Regions from separate parts of the Homo sapiens genome. Here region 2 is linked to region 1. Evidence: promoter capture Hi-C in 16 types of primary human blood cells and fetal thymus (Javierre and others, 2016). All regions are on one chromosome and are shown on one strand. The core of a region is centred on a gene start or on the middle of the fragment in contact, and the rest is flanking DNA. Distances in the headings are between cores, read along the strand shown. Region 1 holds the start of HEYL (hes related family bHLH transcription factor with YRPW motif like). Region 2 has its middle 85 kb from the start of MACF1.

Region 1 (7,004 bases), core at 996-3,495:
GCCACCACACCTGGCAAAATGTTGTTTTTTTAATTAGCTGAGCATGGTGGTATGCCCCTGTAGTCTGAGCTATTCAGGAGGCTGAGGTGGGAGGATCACTTGAGCCAAGGAGTTCAAGGTTTCAGTGAGCTACGATGGCACCACTACACTCTAGCCTGGTGACAGAGTGAATCCTTGTCTTTATTTTTAAAAGAAGGGGGAGTACTGTATAAAGTAATAAAGCCTAATGTTTTGGCTCTGGAACTGAACTGCCTTGTTGAATTCCAGCCCTTCCATTTATTGCCTGTTGGCCTTAGGTGGAGTTAGTCTACCTCTCAGCCTTTGTTTCTCACTTGTAAAGTGGGGATTATAATATTACTACTTTATAGGGTTGTCAAGGATTAAATGAGTTAATATTTACAAAAGACTTAGAATAGTTTCAGGTTTTATAATAAGGGCTCACCAAATGTTAAGTATTTAGCTAGGCCCCTGCTCTGTCTCCATCCACGTTTTCTGAATGATCCCATCTGCTCCCATAGCTTTAAATGCCATCAATTACCTAATGACGTCCAAATTTAATATCCAGCTGAGACCTCTGTTCTGAACTCCATACCCTCTATTTAACTGTGCACTGTATTTTGATGATCCAAGACATCTCACATGAAACGTCCATCACGGGGCCCTTGACCTTCCCCTGCAAATCTGCTCCTCTTCCAATCTTTGCTATCTCAGCCAATTACACAGGGCAGCTATCTGGGAGGCTTCCTTGACTTCCGCCTTTCCAGGGAATGCATAACACATTGTGCAACTTCTCTGTTAGTTGAGGTTTCCACTGACTGGCATGTGCCCACAGAAGTGATGTGAGTGCTGAGGGCATTTGGAATGAGAGTCCATAGTTGTGGCTGGGGCGACCACCAGGGCTTCCTGGTACTGATTGCTCACGACAGTTGCGCCTACCAGTATATATTTGTAAGTCTGTCCGTGTGTATGTGTTTGCATACCTGGCCAAATGGTTGTGTCTGTGGATGTGTGTGGACGGGGGCACAGGAACATTCTTTCCCATCAAGTAATCAAGTGTCCCCCAGCAAGCAGGCCTTGCTGTGGGGATGGAAGCACAGTTATTCTCAGATGACCAACCCGATTCTCCCACTTGAAGGGGTGGCTTCCCTCAGGTCCTGACCTGGTGGCGGGTAAAAAGGAAAAGACCTCTCATATCTAACCCAGCACACCAAGACCTCCTCTATCTCCTCTTCCCTGCCCAAGAAGTCCAGCTCCAGGATGCTCTCATGCAGCTTCCTTTGGAGCCTTAGGAGCTTCTCTGAGGTACTGGGCGCCTGAGGATGACCGGTGAATCTGAGAACTTCCCACAAGTCCCCCTAAGGACAGGGCAGCTAGAGCCCTCCCTGAGTGAACAGTTTGATGGGTTGCCAGAAGCAGAGGCCCCAGGAAGAGAGGCTGGAAGGTATCTTCCCTTTTCCTCTCCTTCTCCCACTTTGAGGCCCTGCCATAGCGTCTAGAAGGAGCCCTTTCCTGGCCTCCTGGCCGCCCAGGACAACTCGACCTCTGGTGAACTGGGAACTGATTCCCAGGGACAACCCACCACTGCCACCACGCCAGGCCTTTAGGGACCTCGGCCAGAGCCCAGCTTTCTCAGATGCGGTGGCCACAACTTCAGCCGTCCCTTTTGGGGGTGACTGCCACCTCTCAGAAGTGTAAGTGTCTTCCCCTTGCCCCCACCACACTATTCCACTTGCTTTGGGCCCCTATGGAGTTGCTGCTGGGGAATTCTTGCTGAGGATCAGGCCACAACCACCACGACTAACTTCGACAAACTTGATGTGTCTGCTGCCTCCAGAACACCAGGAGGCAGGAGCGCGCAGGGTTGACCCTTGCGGAATCCCGGGCATCGAAGCGGCGCCTCTACAGGCCAGCAGCGCCCAGGCGACCCAGGGACAGACGGGGACTCCTGGCTTCCCCGCGGGGCCTCCCAGGGCACCTGCCCAAGGCCACCCAGCGCGCGGCAGCCGAGACAGCGGAGCAGAGCCGGACCTCCCAGCCGTCGATGAAGGCGGCGACCGCCTAGGGCCTTCCCACGGCTCGGCGGCGCGTCACCGCGGGGGCGAGGGGGCGCCTGGGCGCCCGGAGCTGCGGCGCAGGAAAGGGCCCTGGGAAAGGGCGGTGGCGGCGCCCCCGAGGCGGGGCCGGGGCGGGGCCGGGGCGGGGCCTGACTTCCCGACTGGGAGCCTTAGCCGCGGGGCTGAGACCAGGCAGCCTGCGTTCGCCATGAAGCGACCCAAGGAGCCGAGCGGCTCCGACGGGGAGTCCGACGGACCCATCGACGTGGGCCAAGAGGGCCAGCTGAGGTAAGGGCCGGGATGCGGGGACCGAGCAGGCGGAGGGCGAGCGGGGTGGGGGTCGGCCCGACGGGCTCGCCGAGCAGGCGGGCCAGCCCTCCAGCACCGCCTGGGCAGAGGCAGGTGAGCGCGGGGGCCACAGGTGTCGGCGTAGGGGGCGTGTGCGGGCCGTGCCGTTACACGCACGAGTGCCTGGATCCTGCGCGCTCTCGGTCGTGCAGGGCTGGGGATGCTGGCAGGGAGGGAGAGTTCAGCTCGGGGGATCAGGTGGCTAGTGGGTTATCATCTATCTGTTGAAGTGGCCTAGGGGAGGCCATTGGCAGGTTTTCCCTGGAGATCTTAGAAAACTCTCATAGACTGATGGTACTCTGGCCCCTGTCTGGAATCTGCTGACGATGCAGAGTAACCCCATCCTTTCCCAATTTTACCCTAGTTTGGATGCAGTTTTCATGTAGTCCACAAATTATTTCAGGAAGAAGAAAATTTGTCCTCCTTTGAGCAAATTGGAGTTTGGATTTAGGGACTTAGTATTGAAGAAAATAATAAGCGACTTGCAAGGGCCTAGACTCTAATTCCAATGTTCCTCCTATCGTGCCCCCATACTGCCAGTGTCTTTCAGCTCCTGGTAGATAGTCTGACCTGCTTCAAACCTGTCGAACAAACTGCGCTTGTATAGTTCTGCTACCTCGCAGTTCTGTAAACTGTCTAAGCTTCAGTTTCCTTATCTGTTAAATGAGCATGAATAATAGAACCAACTTCATGGAAATATTGGGAAAACCAAATGAGGCAAAGTATGTCAAGGGCTTAGCACAGCACATGCCTAGGTACACACCATGTGATTCCCAGCACCCTGAAAGAGCTGCAGGGCTGACTGGGAGTCTGCAGACCTGGGTCCCAGCCCCAAATCTGCCACCAACTCACTATGTGGTCTTGGGCCATTGGTTTCCCTGACAGAGTCTGTCATCAGTTTCCCCATCAGTAAAACAAAGACAGCAGTGGAAAAGAAAGGGATATACTTCATCTCTCTTGGCTCATCTAGACTTGACTCTCTAGAACAGAATTGGAGGGGAATTCAGTTAATTCTTTCTTTCTTTCTTTTTGACATGGTCTCACTCTGTTGCCCATGCTGGAGTGCAGTGGCATGATCATAGCTCATGGCAACCTTGATCTCCTGGGCTTAAGTGATCCTCCTGCCTTGGCCTCCCAAAGTGTTGGGATTACAGACATAAGCCAGTGAGCCAGGCCCAGTTAATTCTTAGGGATGTTTTTGAGGACATTTTGTAATTTTAGTGCTCTCCAGTTTTCTGAGATCCAAGGATCCTGCCTCAGTCTCAAATCCCAGGAAAATGCCATAATAGATATTCCTCTTGCAGCCTGTACATTTGTTTTTAGGGAGTATAACACAACTCGCTATGCAACGTATTAGCCTTTCTTAATTGTTTAGCAGAAACTGCTATTTAGAAAAGCAGTTATCTTAGCCTGTGCCTGTTAAGGGCCAGGAAAGGGCACAGCACCACGTGGTGGTGGTGGAGCGGGGTCTCAAATTCAATGGCATTGGGTCTTCATAGATCAGAGGCACAAAATTGATGCCAGAGAACTAGGTTGATCAGAGCTGGCTTCTGTCCTCCACAAGTTTGCAGCCCAGTCAGTGACCTGCCAGGTCATAAAAACACCATGGACAGGATGGAAAGGAGACAGACTGTGGGCTGTGAGGGCACTTAAGCAAAGAGAGGTCACTCTTAATCAAAGATGGCAAGGAGGGCTTCTTGAAGATAGTAGCATCTGGGCAACTGCTTACATGAGGCATAAAGGATCAGTGGGCAGTTTTTTCCTATACATACAGCATTTCCTATATATACAGAGCCCATTTTTAGACACTGTTCTTAGAGGAGCAGACCCCTCTGAGGAGAGAAAGCAGCTGGACATCTGGCAGAGGCTGACTTATAGATGCCCCTTTGTAGCACTCACCAAAGGGCCCTTCCCCCAGCAGACATCAATGCTTCAATTCAGGGAGCACTGAACGATGCCTGCTGTGGCCCAGACCCTGGGCTGGGCATAGGGGGCCCAGATGTATCCTGCTCAGCCTCTGCCCTCAGGGAACTCTCAGGGAAGAAGAGCTTCATGTACAAAGAAAGCAGATAAACACTGACAAAGGCCGCAGGACGGAGGCAGCCAGCCTCTCGGGGTCAGGGGCAGGGCGCAAAACCCCCACACTCAGAAACGTGAGAGTAAAGAGCAGGGTGTGTTCCACCATCACTGTGGCATCTGCCTGGTGGCAGTCCTGCCACATCTGTGAAACTCACCCACAGAGCTCTCATCTCAACCTGGCCCCATGACGCAGGATGAGTCCAAACTGAGAGTACAGCCTCTCCTCTCCCTCTGCAAACATCTAATGAGCACCTGCCACATGTCAGACACTGGATCAGGGTCCTGTTCCTGCACAATATAAGGTGGTGGTCTTGGAGTCAGATAGACCTGAGTTTGAATTTTACCACCATTAACTTTGGCCAGTGACTTTTACCCCTTTCTGAACCTCAGTTTTCTCGCGTTCAAAATGGGAATACATTAGCACTCCTGCCTCGCAGGATAAGGTTTGATGAAGTAACATACATAAAGTTACATAGCTCCCTGCTTTGGCACAAAGTAACTTCCAATAAACGTTGCTGTCAAAGCGGTCACCATTCAGTTGGGGGGCAACATATTTATGAGACAGCATGGTCTAATGAAAAGACCGGAAGTGTGAAGACTGGACTTACTGGAGTGATTCTTAACTCCAGTGTCTCTGTCACTCCACCTGTAAAATGATTATTTTTCCTAAATGTGAAATGGCCCAAAAAATACTTCACTTACAGTGCTATTGTGCAATAAATTAGACAAATGGATGTGGAAGTGCAGTATAGAACAAAAAGCACTGGCTCTGAGATCTACATGACGGGATGATGTATATATGGGGTGCACTGGCAAAAGCCCCAGATTAAAAGCCACTAGAGGCCGGGCACGGTGGCTCACGCCTGTAATCCCAGCACTTTGGGAGGCTGAGGTGGGTGGATCACGAGGTCAAGAGATCGAGACCATCCTGGCTAATATGGTGAAACCCCATCTCTACTAAAAATACAAAAAATTAGCTGGGCATGGTGACACGTGCCTGTAGTCCCAGTTACTTGGAAGGCTGAGACAGGAGAATCACTTGAACCTGGGAGGCGGAGGTTGCAGTGAGCTGAGATTGTGCCACTGCACTCCAGCCTGGGTGACAGAGTAAGACTCTGTCTCAAAAAAGAAAAGAAAAAAAAAAAAAAGCTACTAGAGTAGACCTGGCTGTAGTTCCGATTTTCCTCTAATTTGCTGTGTGGCCTGGGGAAGATCCCTTCCCCTCTGAGTTTCCTTATTTTACAAATGGACTCAGTTCTCTCTGAGATTCCTTCATTTGGGACATTGTGATTCTGCCTTTGGCTGACACAAAATGATTAGGGTCATCTGCAAGGGTTCCACGGGGGAGTTCCCAGGGGAAGTCAGCACTGAGGGTGGTCAGGACCACCTGGAAAGCTTCCCCCCATAAGAGACCGCCCCAGAATTCTGGCTAGGAGCCACTAGAGGCCTATGGAGCAGATCTTGATGGTCAACATATCTTCTCTGGGTCCATGAAAATCTGTGTCATTTTCAGATTCTCAGACAAGAGAATCCCACACCTCATCCCACTGTCAGGGCCAGATCGCGGGCTGGAAGGGAGCTCTGGCTGGGCTCTTGGGAACTTTAAAAATAAGGGGACCGGAGGGCTATTCAGACAGACAGGAAGTAGGAATTAGAAGGGAAAAAATGCTGAAGCGGAGCCAGAAGATGCGGATTCCCTGCTGGCTTTGCTCCTTAGCAGCTGGGTAGGCTGGGCAACCTGCTTTAGCTCCCTGAAGCTCAGCAACCTCATCTGTAATATGGGCTTTTGTAAGGCTCAAAGGAGGGAAAGACATATAATGTTGCCAAGAAAACTGTAATGTGAGGTTTGCCTCTGAGATATGGGAAGAGGAGAAGGGGGGAAATAATACGACAGGGACAAGCTGACCAGGAGATTGGAAAAAGGAATGGCAGCACTGCTTTGCCCTGAAATGGGTGCGTCAGCCTCCAACAGATGGTCCCAGCGGAGGGATCAGGCTGAGAGGCAGTGACGTGTGCAAGGCTAACCTAATACCCGGAAAGACGCTTTATCAAGCTGGGGGGAACAAAGGCCGTGTTTCTTAGTGTGTCTTGGCTCTTGGGGTTTGTCCCCAGTGAACCAGTGAGGCTTTGTAAACAAGCTGCCCCATAGATCTCAAGATCTGGCCTTACAAGCCCTGGACCTAGCTTGCTGGGTCCTCCCTCCCAGGAGCTATTATAGACCTCTTACCAGGTCGGCTTGTCCAGATGTTTGGGTGGGAGATATCCTTTTCCAGATGTGTCTGGACAAAGCCAGAGACATAGCAGTAGGATTTGACAAATGCTATCTGGTCTCTTCTGCAACCTTCTCTGAGCAGTTGATGAAAATGATCCAAATTCAAATGCCAAAAGGGTTGGGACCCTTGGGCTGGGACCCTTGTGTTAAGTCATATACGCCCCCATTCCACAAAGTCCTAGGCCATAGATTTTATGGTGCTTACATCTCTGTTCCCCAGTGATGCCAAAGACATGGGTGAGAGAAGAAAG
Region 2 (7,289 bases), core at 4,724-7,223, 520 kb after region 1:
GCTACCTAAGAGGAAGCTAACAGCGTTCACAATGAATGGCTGTGGTATCTAAGGAAACTATGTTAACCTTGGATGATCTGGGGTAACAAGGTCTAACTCAAAACCCACTTCAACATTGTGACTCTGGCGAGAATGCTTCTGGAATAAACTGGAAACTATGGGTTATTTACTCTCATCATTTCTCCAAAGATAATGGGTGTGACCTTTCCCCACCCCCACTCTCAGCTTAGGTCTCTGAGCAACACAGGTAATTATGATCTGCCCACTTACTACTGAAACCGCTGATTTCAACTGGGTTTAATCCTCACCTGCTCTACCTGCCCTACATTTTAGACATAGTTTTTGTTTGTGCTCTTAGCGCTTAACAGTACTACCAGCCGAGCACAGTGGCTCACGCCTGTAATCCCAGCACTTTGGGAGGCTGAGGCAGGTGGATCATGAGGTCAGGAGTTCAAGACTAGCCTGGCCAAGATGGTGAAACCCCATCTCTACTAAAAATACAAAAAATTAGCCAGGCATGATGGTGGGCACCTGTAATCACAGCTACTCGGGAGGCTGAGGTACAGAATTGCTTGAATCCAGGAGGCAGAGGTTGTAGTGAGCCGACATCGCGCCACTGTACTCCAGCCTGAGTGACAGAACAAGACTCCATCTCAAAAAAAAAAAAAAAAAGAATATTACCAAACACAGAAGTGGCTGCACTGTACAAGTATGTTACATAATCACCTTTCTGTAGTTATTCTGGATCCCTGGTTAAAAAGAAAGTCTGAAATGTGAATTATATACGATACAACTGAGTGGGAGTATGTGCAACACAGAATTTTTTTTTACTCAAGAGCGCTACAGACACAACCCCACTGCTCCATGGGGCTGTCTTAAGGTAAACAATTTTTGTAACTCTACTTGAGTAGTTCAAATCAGACCATTTTCAAGAGTAGTCTGATCTGGGAATCTTAAAGCAACCCAGACCACAAATCCAAAATTTTCCTGTGCCTTAAGGTAAAAGAGGGCCAAATGGAGTTAATCGGGCCTGGGTTCAAAACCCAGTTCAGTCACTTACTAGCTGTGTGACCCTCTGGGAAGTGATTTAGGTTCCTTAAGCCTCAGTTCTCTCATCTGTAAAATCTAGTAAGGTTACTGGACTATCATAGGATATCATTTATGACAATTAAATAAGACTGGCCTGGCGCGGTGGCTCACGCCTATAATCCTAGCACTTTGGGAGGCCAAGACGAGCGGACTACCTGAGGTCAGGAGTTTGAGACTAGCCTGGCCAAAATGGCGAAACCCCGTCTCTACTAAAAATATAAAAAGTTAGCCCGGAGTGGTGGCACGCGCCTAGTCCCAGCTACTCAGCAGGCTGAGGCACAAGAATCACTTGAACCCGGGAGGCGAAGTTGTAGTGAGCCGAGATAGTGCCACCGCACTCCAGACCAGGCAACAAAGCAAGACTCTGTCTCAAATAAATAAATAAATAAATAAATAAAATAAAACAAAATACCCGGCATATAGTAAGGACTCAATATATATTAGCTTCTTCCCTTTTGCTTCCCCCACCCCTTTTCATAGAGATAATACAGTTAAGTCCATAATACACATTAGTACCAAATCACATAAAGGAACTGTGATTAAGCATCGTTTTATTTAAACTTTTTTAAAACCCACTTACCTGGTAAGGAGATATGGCGTTAGCTTGAGCAAGTTATTGTGCCTTTCCATGCCTCTTTTCCTTATGGGGAACAAGAGTGAACTAACTTAACATTTCCAATTCATTCATTCAATATTGATTGGAGCAGCTACTTTATACCAGAAACTCTTCTAGGTGCTAGGGAAATTAGTTAATACACAAATAAAAACCTCTATTCTTAAGAAGTTTGCATTCTAGTGCTCACTTAAGCAACACATATACTAAAATTGGAACAACAGAGAGGTTAGGGAGGCCCCTGCACAAGGATGACACACAAATTCGTGAAGTGTTCCACATTTTTAAAAAATAGTTAGAATAAGACCTACTATTTGATAGCACAAAAGGGTGACTATAGTCAATAATAACTTAACTATACATTTTAAAATAACTTAGAGTGTAATTAGATTGTTTGCAACACAAAGATAAATGCTTGAGGGATAGACACCCCATTCTCCATGATGTGCTTATTTCACATTGCATGCCTGTATCAAAACATCTCATGTACCTCATAAATACATACACCTATTATGTACCCACAAAAAATTTAAAAACAAATTTTTAAAAGAAGTTTGCATTGTTGGCCGGGTGTGGTGGCTCACACCTGTAATCCCAACACTTTGGGAGGCCAAGGCGGGCAGATCACGAGGTCAGGAGTTCGAGACCTGCCTGGCCAACATGGTGAAACCCTGTGTCTACTAAAATACACAAATTAGCCAAGTGTGGTGGTGCACACCTGTAATCCTAGCTACTCGGGAGGCTGAGGCAGGAGAATCTCTTGAACCCAGAATGCAGAGGTTACAGTGAGCAGAGACAGCGCCACTGCACTCCAGCCTGGCCAAGAGTGAGACTCAGTCTCACTCTTGTAGTAGGAAGACTCAGACAACAATCAAAATAATTAAAATATGTTACATGATAACAGGGAGTTCCAGGAGTCAGGTGAAGTAGAATTATAACATTCCAAAGGGGAAAGTGAATTTGAGAAACAGAGGTTAAAGGCTTATGCAGTTTTAAAATTCTATGAAATAGAAATTAGAAAATGGTATAAAGAGGCTTTATTGGCCAGGTGCGGTGGCTCACGCCTGTAATCCCAGCACTTTCGGAGGCCAAGACAGGTGGATCACCTGAGATCAGAAGTTCAAGACCAGCCTCATCAATATGGAGAAACCCCGTCTCTACTAAAAAATACAAAATTAGCCAAGCGTGGTGCCGCATGTCTGTAATCCCAGCTACTCAGGAGGCTGAGGCAGTAGAATCGCTTGAACCTGGGAGGCAGAGGTTGCGGTGAGCCGAGATCATGCCATTGCACTTCTTTAGCCTGGGCAACAAGAGCAAAACTCTGTCTCAAAAAAAAAAAAAAAAAAAAAAAAAGAGGCTTTATTATATTCTGCACATTACAATTCTCCATCTGATAGCAACACTTTAAACTATGAAATGGACAGAATATATATTTAGTATACACAAAGCATTCAGTATTTAGAATTTCTCCACTGGATGGACGGGAAAAGCATTCACTAAAATCGGGAACATAGAAGAAGAGGCAGGTCCAGGAGCAGGGAGGGGGACAACAATGCCCCTTTTGGACATATCAAGTATGCAACATCTGTGGGACAACCACGTGGAAAGAAACATTGTGAAAGGTGCTGGAAGTTGCTGAAAACACTAAGAAATAAAACAACCAGCATCATTTGCAAAGTAGCTCAATTCATGAAGTGCATCATATGCATCTCATCAGACACAATCTAGACCTTCAAAGAGATCACAATACAGCTGGGAAGTTCAAACAAATACACACAAAAAGTAACAACAACAACAACAACAACAAACTAAGAAATGTTATAATGGAGTTTTGGCTTAAGGAATTACAAGAATTACAATTATAACACTTGTTTGTTTTTCTGGTTGTTTTTTTTTTTTTTTTTTTTTGAGACGGAGTTTCGCTCTTGTTGCCCAGGCTAGAGTGCAATGGTGCGATCTCGGCTCACCGCAACCTCCGCCTCCCGGGTTCAAGCGATTCTCCTGCCTCAGCCTCCCAAGTAGCTGGGATTACAGGCATGGGCCACCACGCCAGCTAATTTTGTATTTTTAGTACAGACGGGGTTTCTCCATGTTGGTCCCGCTGGTCTAGAACTCCTGATCTCAGGTGATCTGCCCGCCTTGGCCTCCCAAAGTGCTGGGATTACAGGTGTGAGCCACCGTGGCCTATAACACTTGTTATATTTAAAGACCACAATGAAATCACCATTTAGTTTTCCAATTTCTAGAACTTTTATTTATTTAACTTTCCATATCATCACAAGCTTATTTATTGAAGATATACATCTTTATAAGTCAGAAAATAAGAAAAAGAGGAGGAGGAGGAGGAGACAAAAGGATGCTGGAGTTTCGGCTCTGCTGTCAGACAATACATATAGGCAAGGCAAAGTGAAGTAACTAACGACAGCAACAAATACTATTTTCTGCGCTTATTAGCCCCCTTAATACTGCCCCCAAACCTATTTCCTCTTACCACAGCACCTGTGCTACAGCTACACAAGATATTTTGTCTTATGCCTTCACGACCACATACTCATGCCAAGGCCTAGACCATTCCTTCCAATGCCTCACTGCTTTCCAGGTACTTCCCACAGGATAATCAGAGAAAGGAGGCCTGAGAGATGGGCACCTAATGCTCCATCTATCTTTCTCTCCCACAGGGAAAGTAAAGAAAATTTCCAGCCCTTTGGCAGTTCCTCATTCTTCCTAATAAAGGCAGTGTTACATGAATACTGTTATTACACTTATTAACAATAAGAACAAGAATGAAAACAAGGATCCAGTCCTCTGAAAGGTATGAGGACCTCAAAGTACCCCACCTACTCTGGTCCCTGTTTTCCATTTGGGAAACTAACCAACAAAGGCTGGGACAAGTCCTACATTCTTCCCCTCTAGAGGTGACTCAGGCCAGGTCAGTTAGCTTCTTTCCCTACACTGACCCATGCTCAGGCTGCAGCTAGCTTTGGCTGCTGCTCTGTCTGTGGTGCTTGTGAGCACACGAATGTTTGTAGTAGGTCTGGAATAAATTTTCTCAAGTTACAAAGATAACTGTACCAGAAGAGCCAAGCCTTCCAGGCACTCTCCCTGCTGGAAACTGGAGCCTCCCATTTCAGTGACAGGTTACCACTAGAGAGCAAAGGTCCTGTTAGGATCCTGCCCCATATGTATAGATAATATGGCAAAAAGGTCCTGCATGACTAGAAAGGATATCAGAGAGAAATTACCTGGCATCAAAGGGCCACAGGTGGCAGCTCTCTGCCATCTTAGTTGGAGCTGAAGATGATCTGGTCTCTGTTAATCCTCTTCCTCACTGACTACATGTCTTTTTAGGATATCTTCTACTGTGAATATGATAGCTAAATGAGGAGCAATAATCCATTATTTGTTCAACCGCTTACACATTCTTTATTGTCTTTTGTCATTTGTAATGTGTATTATATACTGTAAATCCCTAGAGGACAGAGGGTTTATGAACTCTCAGTGTTATATACTATATTCTACATTCAAAGAGGCTCTTAACAGAGACATTTTTGCTGATGGTGATAACAATAGTAGAGGAAGTCTGTATACACAAAGGGGCATGCCCTGAAGTCAACCATTCATGGCAACAGGTGAAGCCACAGGCAAGGGACACCCAAGTACACACACACACACACACACACACACACACACACCTCTTGCAGGTTGAGAGACAAATTGCACTGGACAAGCCAAACCAGGGAGTGAAACAAGATCAAAGATTCTCCAAATTAGTGGAGACATACTTCCACTCCCCAGTGTGACTCATGGCAAGTTTATCTGATAAGAGTCCAGCTTCACAAAACAAGGAGCGCAAAACAAGGCACACTGTGGCGAACATGGCAATAAACAAACAAAGATGCGGAATGTGCCAATGGGAAAGAACTACATCAATTCTGAGCTGGCCCTAACACATTAGGAAATATCCTCTACACTGGAATAAAAGTGAAAAAAAACCAAGCAAGTAGAGGGCAAAGGGTAACTAATACTCTTTTTAGATATAAAGGTCAGATAAACTCTGAAGGACACTATCACATCTGAAAGGTGGTGGTTATATTGAACCTGTTAAGGTAAAGCAGGTAGGGCTCTGAGTCATGAGAACAAATCTATCTCCTTCATTGCCTGCCTGCCAAAATAAACAAGAAGGAGGCTGCATTTTCCACAACAGCCTCTCTGTCCAGTCTTGTAAACACCCAGGTCTTCACAAGCCTAGTACAAATTAACTACATAACCTTCATGGAAAGCAAAGCTCAACTGCCCTGGGGAGAGTAGTAAAGCTAACCTGTTAAGACTAATGAAGAAGCTAGGCCTGGAGTTCACTCATGGAGAGTGAGTGAATCCTCCACTATCCATGTCAGATAATGAGATGGGGATTAAAGACCACAAGTGAGGAAAGCCTCTCTCTATGTCAAGAGTCAAGATGTCCTGTCCAAAAGTCAAATTATCTCAACAAAAACTTAAGAATTAATTTCTGCATAGTATTTAGCTAAATGACAGGCAGGAATGCAAAAGTTACATATATGCTTCTTCCCAGAGGAGTAGACAATTTCACTGGGGAGCCAAAATACAAGCCAGCCAGAGAACAACAGTACAAACAATCAATAATCAAACTGATGCTACATTTTAAGACAAACTACAAGGACCCCATATTCTTCCGTCAAAACTATGCTGGAAAATTCTGATCCTAGATCAATCTACCTGTCTGCCTTGGAATCTATTACAATCAGGTTGTTGAGTGCTTCTAGGGCTAGAGGGAAAACACACACACATACACACACACACGTGCACACACACACACACACATACACACTCACCCCTTCTTTCCTTCCTCCTGACTCTCAGCAAATAACTTCACCTCCTACTTCATAGAGAGAGTATGAGCATCAGGAGAAATTCCCTCAAGTTCCTACACCTCTAACCAACCAACTTAATCACCTGCATTCTTATTTTTAACCCTCTGATCTTTCTAAAAGACACAACTTTTGACTCTAGAGCCCATGCTCCATCAATTTTTCTCCCCGTCTTTGAATTGTATTATATCTTCCTTCTCTACTGGCTCTTTCAAAACAGCACTTAAAATAAACATGCTCAAGTCTCTCCTGTGTTACAATACATAAACAAAACTCTCCCCACCCTTCTTCACCTGTCTTCCTCCTCTCTCTTCCTTCAAAGTCCAAGTTCCAAAGGTCACTGACTCCTCTTCTGCACTTTCCATTCACTTCCCACAACTCCACTGAAAATGTTCCAGTAGCAGTAACCTTTATTTTGGACATCTGTAGTCTTTGCCTTATTTGACCTCTGCATAATCTACAATGTGTGTCACACTCTCCTTGAAACTCACTTCTCTCCTGTTCCTCTTACCTTTCTGGCCACTCCCTTTCTGTGGACAATTTCCTTCAGGAGATCCTCTTTCTCTGCTTCTGACACCACTCTCCTGTTGGAGTTCCCCAGAGTTTTTGTCTCAATATACATACACTCCTAAAGCCAGCTCCTTCTCCCCTCCTATGGCTGTGGTTTGATAAGCTGATGACTCTCTCACCCTCTCACCTAT

Evidence for each region. Contacts are between HindIII fragments. The CHiCAGO score rates a contact against its expected background, and 5 or more counts as called.
Region 2: a contact is called between a fragment that was not itself captured here and the fragment with the promoter of HEYL in region 1, in 1 of 17 cell types (fetal thymus). The highest score is 5.9, in fetal thymus.

Annotation. Positions count from the first base shown.
Region 1 is chr1:39,634,884-39,641,887 of GRCh38, reverse strand. It overlaps HEYL (hes related family bHLH transcription factor with YRPW motif like), which reads left to right and starts at 2,245. Exons shown (of 5, transcript NM_014571.4): 1 at 2,245-2,342. The coding sequence starts at 2,263. RefSeq lists silencers at 1,889-2,278, 2,399-2,468. The HindIII fragment of the contact is 7,834 bases long and covers 1-3,045 here.
Region 2 is chr1:39,115,639-39,122,927 of GRCh38, reverse strand. It overlaps a transcript of MACF1 not described here and the pseudogene RNU6-608P. Among named protein-coding and RNA genes, the nearest start is that of MACF1, 85 kb to the left of the region's middle. The HindIII fragment of the contact is 3,974 bases long and covers 3,987-7,289 here.